Linked DNA regions of Homo sapiens: region 1 is linked to region 2. Evidence: promoter capture Hi-C in 16 types of primary human blood cells and fetal thymus (Javierre and others, 2016). All regions are on one chromosome and are shown on one strand. The core of a region is centred on a gene start or on the middle of the fragment in contact, and the rest is flanking DNA. Distances in the headings are between cores, read along the strand shown.

Region 1 (5,925 bases), core at 1,993-4,492, 360 kb before region 2:
GTCTCAGCTGAAGCCAAAACAAGAGTCCCATTTTAGCATCCTGTTCCATATGTAAAATTGGAGGGAATAACTAAGACAAATTAATAAAAATACAACAGTGGTGGTAGACTTTCACCCACTTGTTTCAGTCTTTGTTGGACTAAATAGAGAAAAGAAAGTAAGGATATTACAGAGGAGGAGAATATAATGACTAAATGTTCTGAACTGTATCCTTTGAAAAGAGTAGACTTCTTTTCAATTAAATGGAAAAAGGTATAACGATGTCCACTGATGAATGGGTAAACAAAATGTGGTATATACATACAATGGAGGCCAGAGTGGTGGTTCACACCTGTAATCCCAGCACTTTGGGAGGCCGAGGCGGGTGGATCACCTGAGCCTGGGAGGCAGAGGTTGCAGTGTGCCGAGCAACCTGGGTGCACTCCAGCCTGGGTGACAGAGCAAGATCCTCTCTCTAAATAAATAAATAATACACACAATGGAATATTATTCTGCCTTTAAAATAAAGAAATCCTGTTATGTGACAACATGGATGAACCTGGAGAACAGGATGCCAAGAGAAATAAGCGAATCACAGAAGGACAAATACATGATTCTACTTATATGGTGTCAAACTCATAGAAAGAAAGAATAAAATGGTGGTTGCCAGAGGCTGGAGGGAGGAGGGAATGGGGAGTTGCTAGTCAGTGGATATAAAATTTCAGTTATTCAAGAGGAAAAAGTTCTAGAGATCCTCTGTATAACAATGTAGCTATAAATAACAGTATTGTGTTGTACACTTTAAAATCTATTAAGAGGGTAGCTCTCATGTTAAGTGTTCTTGACACAATGAGATAAAATAAAAAGGAAAGCCCATTGTATATAAGAAATTGGAAATTGTACCGTCATATTCCTGATCATAATGCAAGAACGCAGGAAATAAGTTAAAAGTAGAAGCATTGGATGTCTTTTGTAGTTGGCAACAAATAAAATAAAATAAAAAGTAGATGCAGAAAGACGTTTGAGAATGTCAAGCCTTTCTATGGAACTGCTCTAGAGCAAAAATACATTTATAAGATATTTGGGAAATAATGCTAATAAAAACACTCCATATAAAAACTCATGGATAACACTAGAGCTGTACTCAGAGGAAAATGCCTACTCTTAAAACACTCTGGAAGTAAGAAAAATAAAATACAGCAGTCAGTTAAGTCTGCCCAAGAAGTAAGGATGAGGAACTTTGTTTTCCCTTTGAGAGCTGCCTGAGGTGAGGTGCTCATTTTGTTAAACTTCCCAGAGTGAAACACTTTAGCAAAACAATAAATATCACAACTCAAAGGCTTATTTGGAGCTCAACAAGTTAGACATAAGGTGTTTTGTTGGTTTTGTTAAAAAGCAGATATACTGAGATATAATTCACATCCCACCATACAATTTACCCACTTAAGGTGCAAAAATGTTTTTTACCATATTCACAGGTTGGTGCATCCATCACTATAACCAGTTTTAGAACATTTTTGTTTTATTTTTATTTTTATTTTTTTGAGACGGAGTTTCACTCTTGTTGCCTGGGCTGGAGTGCAGCGGCACGATCTCAGCTCACCACAACCTCTGCCTCCCCGGGTTCAAGTGATTCTCCTGCCTCAGCCTCCCGAGTAGCTGGGATTACAGGCATGCGCCACCACGCCTGGCTAATTTTGTATTTTTGATAGAGACGGGGTTTCTCGATGTTGGTCAGGCTGGTCTCAAACTCCTGACCTGAGGTGATCCGCCCATCTCAGCTTCCTGAAGTGCTGGGATTACAGGCGTGAGCCACCATGCCTGGCCAGAACATTTTTATTACCACTGAAAAAACTCCATCCCTTGGCCAGGTGGTGGCACACGCCTTTAATCCCAGCACTTTGGGAGGCTGAAGTGGGAGGATCACCTGAGGTAAGGAGTTTGAGACCAGCCTGGCCAATATGATGAAATCCCATCTCTACTAAAAAATACAAAAATTAGCTGGACATGCTGATGCATGCCTGTAGTCCCGGCTACTTGGGAGGCTGAGGTGGGAGGATCGCTTGAGCCCAGGAGGTGGAGGTTGCAGTCAGCCGAGATGGCACCACTGCACTCTAGCCTGGGCGACAGCAAGAGACTCTGTCTCAAAAAAAAAAAAAAGAAAAGAAAAAGAAAAAGAAAAGAAAAGAAAAGAAAAAATCCCATCTTCATTAACAGCCATTCCCCATTTCTCCCCATCCCCACCCCGCCGGCAACCACTAATCTGCTTTCTGCATCTGTGGATTTGCCTATTCTGGAAATTTTATATAAATGGAATCCTGTGGAGAGAGAGAATGGAGAATGACTGCTTAATGGGGTACAGAAATGATGAAAAAGTTCTGGAGCTAGATAGTGGGGATGGTTGCAAAACATTGAGAATGTATTTAACATGCCTAAGTCGTACACTTTAAAATGGTTAACCAGTCTGGGCAACATGGTGAAACCCTGTCTCTACAAAAAATACAAATAAATAAATAAATAATAGCCAGGCATGGTGGTCCCAGCTACTTGGGAGGCTGAGGTGAGAGGATTGCTTGAGTCCACGAGGTTGAAGCTGCAGTGAGCTGAGACTGCTCTACTGCACTCCAGGCTGGGTAATAGAATGAGACTCTGTCTCAAAAAAAAATTATTAAAAAAATCTATAATACAGTGGTCGATTTTATGTTATGGTCGATTTTATGTAATGTGTTTTTTACCATAATAATTTTTAAAATCCAGACTAAGGAAGGCTAGTATTTGTGAAGTCATTAGACAGAACCATATCTAATTTAAGAATTAGTCATGAATATTGAAGTGGATTACTTTTTGTCACATTGTACTAAGAGAAACAACAAACATTGCCAACAAAATATCACCCAAAACAACAAATATTTAAGCTTATTTAACCAAAACATGGAGGTTAGGCATTTTGTTTCTTCAAAAGCAAGGTATAATAGTTTTAACAAATCAAACATATGGAGCTAAAAAAGATGTTTTAGCTATAAATATAAAATTTTAATAGATTGTTACCTAAGTGACTATGTAAAGCTTGGAATGTCACATTATGATGCTGGCTTCACCTTGCTCTGTTTATTTACAGACTAGGAAAGAGAGAAAGATAAGCCTCCAGGTTTATCGAGCTCCTAAAAATTTCTCACTTTGGCAGCCTTAAACTATTGTGCAAGAGCAAGTGGGGTCAGGCTGTGTGACTCATGCCTATAATCCCAAGAAGCTACCAGCTTTCAGGTCCCAAATATAATAAGACTCAAAGAAATGGCATCAAATTCTAGAGCAAAATCAAGCATCTACCATGGTTGTGCTGAATATCCTTCTGTTTCCACATAAGGGAACATTAGAGTCATGGCTTGCGACTTTAAAAATAAAAGTAACCAGGCGTAGTGGCACACACCTGTAGTCCCAGCTACTCTGGAGGCTGAGGTGGGAAGCTTGCTTGAGCCCAGGAGATCAAGGCTGCAGTGAACATGATTGTGCCACTGCACTGTAGCCTGAGTGACAGAGCAAGACCCAGTCTCTATTTTTTAAAAAACCATTTAAGAAAACTGCAACCAAGCATTAATGCAGTGGTTTGTGAACTTGGAGGCACGTTAGAATCATCTAAGGGCTTTTAGAATCTTCCATGTCCTGGTCACACCCAAGACCAATTTTTTAAAAAAATTTTTATTTTATTTTAGGTTCCGGGATACATGTGCAGAACATGCAGGTTTGTTACATAGGTAAACATGTGCCATGGTGGTTTGCTGTACCTATCAACCCATTATGTAAGTATTAAGCCCAGCATGCATTAGCTATTAGTCCTGACGCTTTCCCTCCCCTGCCTCATCGACAGGCCCCAGTGTGTGTTGTTCCCCTCCCTGTGTCCATGTATTCTCATTGTTCATCTCCCACTTATGAGTGAGAATATAGAGGTGTTTGGTTTTCTGTTCCTGTGTTAGTTTGCTGAGGATGATGGCTTCCAGCTTTATCTATGTCACTGCAAAGAACATGATCTCATTGCTTTTTATGGCTACATAGTATTCCATGCTGTATATGTACCACATTTTCTTTATCCAGTCTATCATTGATGGGCATTTGGGTTGGTTCCAAGTCTTTGCTATTGTGAATAGGGCTGCAATAAACATACATGTGCATGTATCTTTATAATATAATGATTTATATTCCTTTGGGTATATACCCAAATATATACCCCGTAATGGGATTGCTGGGTCAAATATTTCTGGTTCTAGATCCTTGAGGAATTGCCACACTGCCATCCACAGTTGTTGAATTAATTTACATTCCCACCAACAGGGTAAAAGCGTTCCTATTTCTCTGCAGTTTCGCCAGCATCTGTTGTTTCTTGACTTTTTAATAATTGCCTTTCTGACTACACCAGACCAATTGACTCAGACATTGGGTGTGAGACCCAGGCATCAGTATGGCTTTAAAGCCCCCCAGGTGAGTCCAATGTGCAGAGGCTGGCTGTCATGGCAAGAGATGCTTGACAATTAAGAAATTGGGAACACCTGGCCGGAGGCAGTGGCTCACGCCTGTAATCCCAGCACTTTGGGAGGCCGAGGCGGGCAGATCACCTGAGGTCGGGAGTTCAAGGCCAGCCTGACCAACATGGAGAAACCCTATCTCTACTAAAAATACAAAATTAGCCAGGCGTCATGGCACATGCCTGTAATCCCAGCTACTCGGGAAGCAGAGGCAGGAGAATCCCTTGAACCTGGGAGGTGGAGGTTGTGGTGAGCTGAGATCATGCCATTGCACTCCAGCCTGGGCAACAAGAGTGAAACTCTGTTTCAAAAAAAAAAAAAAGAAAAGAAATTGGGAACACCTTCTATCTGCCAGCGGTAAAGCTACTCAATTTTGCAGAAATAAACATGTAAGAGAAATCAAAGTCCTGCTCCCAAAAGAACGTTTCAGAAGTTGTTTTGAAAGCTCTGGGCAAGCTACATGGATGAAAGAAATGCTACAAGGGACTTGTGAACCTCGCTTCCATTCAATCACTCATTCATTCATTCATTCATTTATTCATTCACCGATTCACTCGCAAAGTCATTTATCACTGTTATTTATTCCTTCACTCAGTCAGTCATTCACGCAACATTTCTTAGGCTCCCCTCTGTGCCAAGTCCTGGAGAAACTGAAATAGAAGGAAGGATGGTGCCCCCCCTGAGAAAGCTTGTGATCTGGGATGACGGTGAGGGGTAACAGATGGTGGCAATTGAGTTCAGGGTGCTCAGGAAGAAGCCTGTCCTGGGTGTGATGAAGTGTGGGGGGAAGGGGTGTGTCACCCCGCTGAGTGGTGAGGCGGTGGAGGAGGGGGCTCCCTTGAAAACAACTTTCTAGGGAGAGGACACCTGAATAAGACCTGAGAAAGGAGCAGGTGTGAGCCCATCTGCAACAAATCCCCTGTGAGTGTGGCTCTCAGCCTGGCTGCCCCTGGGAGATTCCTTCCTGTCTGGCTCCACCCCCAGAGACTCAGGTTTCACGGGGCTACAGTGGGGCTCGGGCATTCGCATGCTTTTAAAATATCATGATTTTTTTAAATTGAAGTGAAATTCACATAGCATAAAATTTTTAAATTGAAGTGAAATTCACATAGCATAAAATTTTTAAATTGAAGTGAAATTCACATAGCATAAAATTCACCATTTTAAAGTGGACAATGCAGTGGCATTCAGCACATTCACACAACCACCCCCTCTACTTGGTTTCAAAACATTTTTATCATCCCCAAAATAAGACCCTGTGTACCCATTAAACAACCACTGCCCATTCCACCTTCCCCCAATCCCTGGTGACCACAAATCTGCTTTCTCTCGTTATGGATTTATTTATTTATTTTATTTTATTTATTTGTTTATTTATTTATTTATTTTTGAGACAGAGTCTTACTCTGTCTCCCAAGCTGGAGTGCAG
Region 2 (5,152 bases), core at 1,350-3,849:
AACAAAACTCAAACCACAGCCTGGTGCTATTGGCCAGGTAACAATGGGCACAGAGGCCCTGGGATAGCTAATGGGAGAAAGAGCAGGAAGAAGGCCAGATTTCAAGGGCAGGAACTAAGGGGGCAGGGAGGAGCCAGGGCAGTCTTCCCCAGAGGCTGCTATTAGCTGGTTACCACCCAGGCTGGCGAAATCTGCCAAAGACTCCTTCTCCTAGAGTCTCCTCATTCCTGAGTCCCGATTTCACGGTACTCATACAAAACTCCATTTTAATCTCTACTCCCTCCCTGGTTTAGTCTTTATTTATTTAGAGACAGGGTATCACTCTGTTGCCCAGGCTGGAGTGCAGTGGCGCAATCAGAGCTCACTGCAGCCTCAATCTACCAGGCTCAAGCAATCCTCCCACCTCAACTTCCCGAGTACCTGGGACTACAGGTGTGTGCCACCACAGCCAGCTAACTTTTAAAATTTTTTTTTTTTTTGAGACGGAGTCTTGCTTTGTCACCCAGGCTGGAGTGCAATGGCACAATCTCAGCTCACTGCAACCTCTGCCTCCCGGGTTCAAGAGACTTTCCTGCCTCAGCCTCCTGAGTAGCTGGGATTACAGGTGCCCGCCACCATGCCTGGCTAATTTTTGTATTTTTAGTAGAGATGGGGTTTTGCCATGTTGGCCAGGCTGGTCTTGAACTCCTGACCTTGTGATCCCCCTTGGCCTCCCAAAGTGCTAGGATTACAGGCGTGAGCCACCACGCCTGGCCAACTTTTTAAATTTTTTGTTCCTGTGGGGAACAAAATTGGCCTTTCAAAATTCAGGCCAATTCTCAACTCTTCTCCCATGTGACTTCTCCCACGTGACAAGCCCCCCACGCCTGTCATGTTTAAATTTTCTGTAGAGATGAGGAGGTCTCACTATGTTGCCCAGGCTGGTCTTGAACTCCTGGGCTCAAGCAATCCTGCTGCCTCGGCCTCCCAAAGTGCTGGGATTACAGGCGTGAGCCACAGCCCCCAGCCTGGTTTAGTCTTTATAGCCCAGAGGGAAAAAAAGGGAACTGAGCATATTCAGCCATAATGACTGCCCTAACCATTGGGCCACCCTCTCTGATGCCTTCAGCCCACTGGGGGTTTAAAATGACTAACAAGACCCCTTGGACTACTTCCCATTGCTCCTCCTGATGATGGACAAACAAAGCTGGGGACCATCCACTCATGAGAGGGAAAGGGTGAAAGTTCATGTGCTCTCAGCCATCTGTTATCAAGCATGGAACCAAGGGACATGGCACCAGAGGAAACATTCCTCTGCTGGCTCGAAACCCAGAAAGATCTGTCAGATGTCACAGGGCTTACACATCCTCTTACACATCCTGTCACCCAACCAGCAACTCAGCAAAATCAAAGCAGTGAGCAGCGAAGGCAGAGTCTTGGGACTCCCAGGCTTCCAGTGTAGCTAGAGAAAGAACCCTGCAAAGTGACCACTGCCAGAGCTGTGACCATCTCCTCCCCGCTGCTCACGTCACAGAGACAGAGGTCTACAGAGTGATTCGTCCAAGGTCACAAGGCTTGGTGCGGCTTCCTGACTCTCCAACCAAAATGTTTCCCTTGGGCACCCCTGCCCGAGTCCTGCACCATCCTCCAGCCTCTCCTGCCACCCACATGAGAGTGCAGGCTGGGGTCCTCGTGGAACTCAGAAGCTGGGGGTCCCACCTCTTGCAGATTCTCTGCCTTGGTTAAGACCTCTCGGCACCCCCACTGCTCACTGGCAAATTACTCAGCTCATTGTTGCACCTTACCTGCTCTTTCTCCCTGATGGGCTGTGCCAGAGGCGGTTGCTCCTTCTCCCCAAAGGTCTGGGATCTGATTCTCCTCACTTCCCTTTCTGGACCCAATTTCTTCTTTCTCAAGACTTTGCCTAAAATTTGCTGTCAGCAGAGGGAAGAGTTTGGGCTACTTCTGTGCTGGCTTCAGCAGAGCTGGAGGAAACTGAGCGGCTCTCACGCTTACTCATGAAATGGAGCTTCAGGACAGATAGGAAAACAGGCCCAGGAGGGAGAGGTTAGACTAAGGTCACAGTGGGTAGCTGGCAGAGCCAGAATAGAAGCCTGATGCCCACATGCTCAGGCCAGCGATGTAGGCCCCTCAGATCCCAACTGGAGTGTGCTCCCAGTCCAGCCTGGGGTTGGAGCCCTGAGATAGAAAGGGTGGGCTGCTTTGTGAGGTGAGGCTTTGTGAGGTGAGCCAGGGCGCACCCGGGCCAGGAGGCCGGGGCGGGGCGATTCCCAGGCCTGGAGCGAGAAGGGTGGGCTACTGTGGGGTAACCTGGGGAGGAGCTCCGGGACCCGATCCCGGCCTAGGACTGGGTGGAGACCCTCTGGCTGGGTAAAGGCGCGGCAGAGCTGGCGCAACAGAGGGACGGGCGTGGGGCGAGGACGCCAGGATCTGGACCCCTGCAGGGAAAGGGTCTGAGCTTTTCCGCGGTGGCGGGGACTGAGGGGCTCCACAGACCTCGGGGATCTAACACTTCCACCCTCCAGAGCCTGTCTCCGGCCACCTACCTTGGGGGATTCTTTCCCGAGCCGGCTGCGGAGACACGTGAGCATGCATCACATGACGCCCGCTCGGGCGGCCGCGGGACACGCTGGGAGTTGTAGTTTCCGCAAATGTGAAGCTTGGACAACACCAGCTCCCTGAATCCTCAGCCCGACAGCACTGCCCTGAGCCAGCCTCGCGTCCAGCCAGCTCGTGTTTATCCTCTTACTTTTAGTCTTGGCCTCTTGACCAAATCAAACACTGCTCCTTCCTCCAAGGAAGAGCATTAGGAGGTCTGGCCTCTTTGCCAGTCCCGGTGGCGGTGGGCCAAAGCTGTTTGGCCTCATTATCCTCCCGGTCTCTGTCCTTGCCTTCACGCCCATGGCCAGAGCACTGGAGTTTTTTTTTAATCAGTAATGTGGGGGACCTGGAGCCACGGTCTTTCCTGCAAGGGAGTGGGCTGGGGGCATGGTTACGACCCCATCGGTTTAGACTCTAGAACAGTTTTTGAGGGATTGTAGGTGCTCAGTAAATATTTGTTGAATGACGAAATGGGCATCCAGTCCTGGTTCTGTTCTTGGCTGTGTGTCACTCATAAATTGTCACGTAATCTCCAGCATCCCAATAGCCTCATCTCTGTTTTGTGGATATGCTCTCCACTGCACTTACCTCTCCATGCATCAGAGGTCCTCACCGATGAGGACACACTGGGAATCCTTAGAAACCCAAATCACACCTTTTTTTTTTTTTTTTTTTTTTTTTTTTTTGAGACAGAGTCTCACTCTGTCTCCCCGGCTGGGGTGCAGTGGCACGATCTTTGCTCACTGCAACCTCTGCCTCCCGGGTTCATGTGATTCTCCTGCCTCAGCCTCCCGAGTACCTGGGATTACAGGCATGCACCACCACTCCCAGCTAATTTTTGTATTTTTAGTAGAGATGGGGTTTCGCCATGTTGGCCAGGTTGGTCTCAAACTCCTGACCTCAAGTGATCCACCCACCTCAGCCTCCCAAAGTGCTGGGATTACAGGCATGAGCCACCGTGCCTGGCCTCCAAAAAGTTTATATAAATTGAATCATACTGGTTGAGTGCGGTGGCTCACACCTGTAATCCCAGCACTTTGGGAGGCCAAGGCGGGCTGATCACTTGAGGTCAGGAGTTCGAGACCAGCCTGGCCAACATGGCGAAGTCCTGTCTCTATTAAAAATACAAAAATTAGCTGGGCATGGTGGTGCACGCCAGTAGTCCCAGCTACTCGGGAGCCTGAGGCAGGAGAATCACTTGAACCCGGGGGGCGGAGGTGGCGGTGAGCAGAGATCGTGCCACTGCACTCCAGCCTGGGAGACAGAGTGAGACTCTGTCTCAAAAAAAAAAAAAAAAATAGAATCATACTGTCTTAATCAGTTAAGGCCGCTATAACAGAGTATCATAGACTGGGTGGTTTAAACGACAGAGATTTATTTTTCACCGTCCTGGAAGCTGTCAAGACTGAGGTCAGAATGCCAGCAGAGTCAAGTTCTGGGGAGGACCATCTTCATAGTTTTCAGATGGCCATCTTCCTGCTGTGTCCTCACATTGCGGAAAGCAGAGAGGGAAAGTAAACTCTCTCTTATTTTTATTTATTTTATTATTATTATTATTTTTAGAGACACGGTCTCTGTTGCCCAGGCTGGAGGGCAGTGGCGCAATCACAGCTCACTGCAGTCGCCATCTCCCAGGCTCCACTAGTCCTCCCGCTTCAGCCTCCCAAATAGTTGAGACTACAGGCATGCGTGCCATCATGCCTAGCTAACTTTTCATTTTTTATAGAGACAAGGTCTTCCTATGTTGCCCAGAATGGCCTCAAACTCCTGGGCTCAAGTGAACCTCCTGTCTCAGTCTCCCCAAGTGCTTGGATTACAGGCATGAGCCACCATGCCTGGTCTTGTTTCTTCTTATAAGTGAACTAATCCTGCGGCTGGGTGTGGTGGCTCACGCCTGTAATTCCAGCACTTTGGGAGGCCGAGGCAGGTAGATCATGAGGTCAGGAGTTCAAGACCAGCCTGACCAACATGGTGAAACCCCATCTCTACTAAAAATACAAAACAAATTAGCTGGGTGTGGTGGCATGCGCCTGTAATCCAGCTACTCAGGAGGCTGAGGCAGGAGAATTGCTTGAACCCAGGAGGCAGAGGTTTCAGTGAGCCGAGATCGTGCCACTGCATTCCAGCCTGGGTGACAGAGTAAGACTCTGTCTCAAAAAAAAAAAAAATAGTACTAATCCCATCATGAGGGCTTTAATTACCTAATTACCTCCCAAAGGCACGTCTCCAAATACTATCACGTTGGGGATTAGGGTTTCCACATATCAGTTTGGGATGAACACAAACATTCAGTTCATAGACCACACAGTCTGTAATTTTCTAAGATTGCCTTTTTTTTTTTAACTCAGTAAAATTCCCTAGAAGAGATTCATCTAAGCTATATACGTCAACACAGATAGGTTTTATTGCTGAGTAGTATTCAGTGGTATGTATGTACCACAGTTTACTTACCCATCACTCTTTGAAGGACATTTGAATTGTCTGCCTTTTTTTTTTTAACATAGCTTTATTGAGGCCAGGCATGGTGGCTCATGCCTGTAATCCCAGTACT

What was found. The method cuts DNA at HindIII sites, captures the fragments that hold promoters and counts their contacts. A CHiCAGO score of 5 or more calls a contact.
Region 1: a fragment that was not itself captured here is called in contact with the fragment with the promoter of SLC38A7 in region 2 in 1 of 17 cell types (total CD4 T cells); the score reaches 5.6 in total CD4 T cells.

The regions. Positions count from the first base shown.
Region 1 is chr16:58,326,174-58,332,098 of GRCh38, forward strand. No RefSeq gene overlaps it. Among named protein-coding and RNA genes, the nearest start is that of PRSS54, 34 kb to the left of the region's middle. The HindIII fragment of the contact is 398 bases long and covers 3,044-3,441 here.
Region 2 is chr16:58,682,171-58,687,322 of GRCh38, forward strand. SLC38A7 (solute carrier family 38 member 7) reads right to left here and starts at 2,600. Exons shown (of 12, transcript NM_018231.3): 1 at 2,547-2,600; 2 at 1,785-2,008. RefSeq lists enhancers at 1,972-2,816, 2,327-2,386. The HindIII fragment of the contact is 5,837 bases long and covers 1-2,657 here.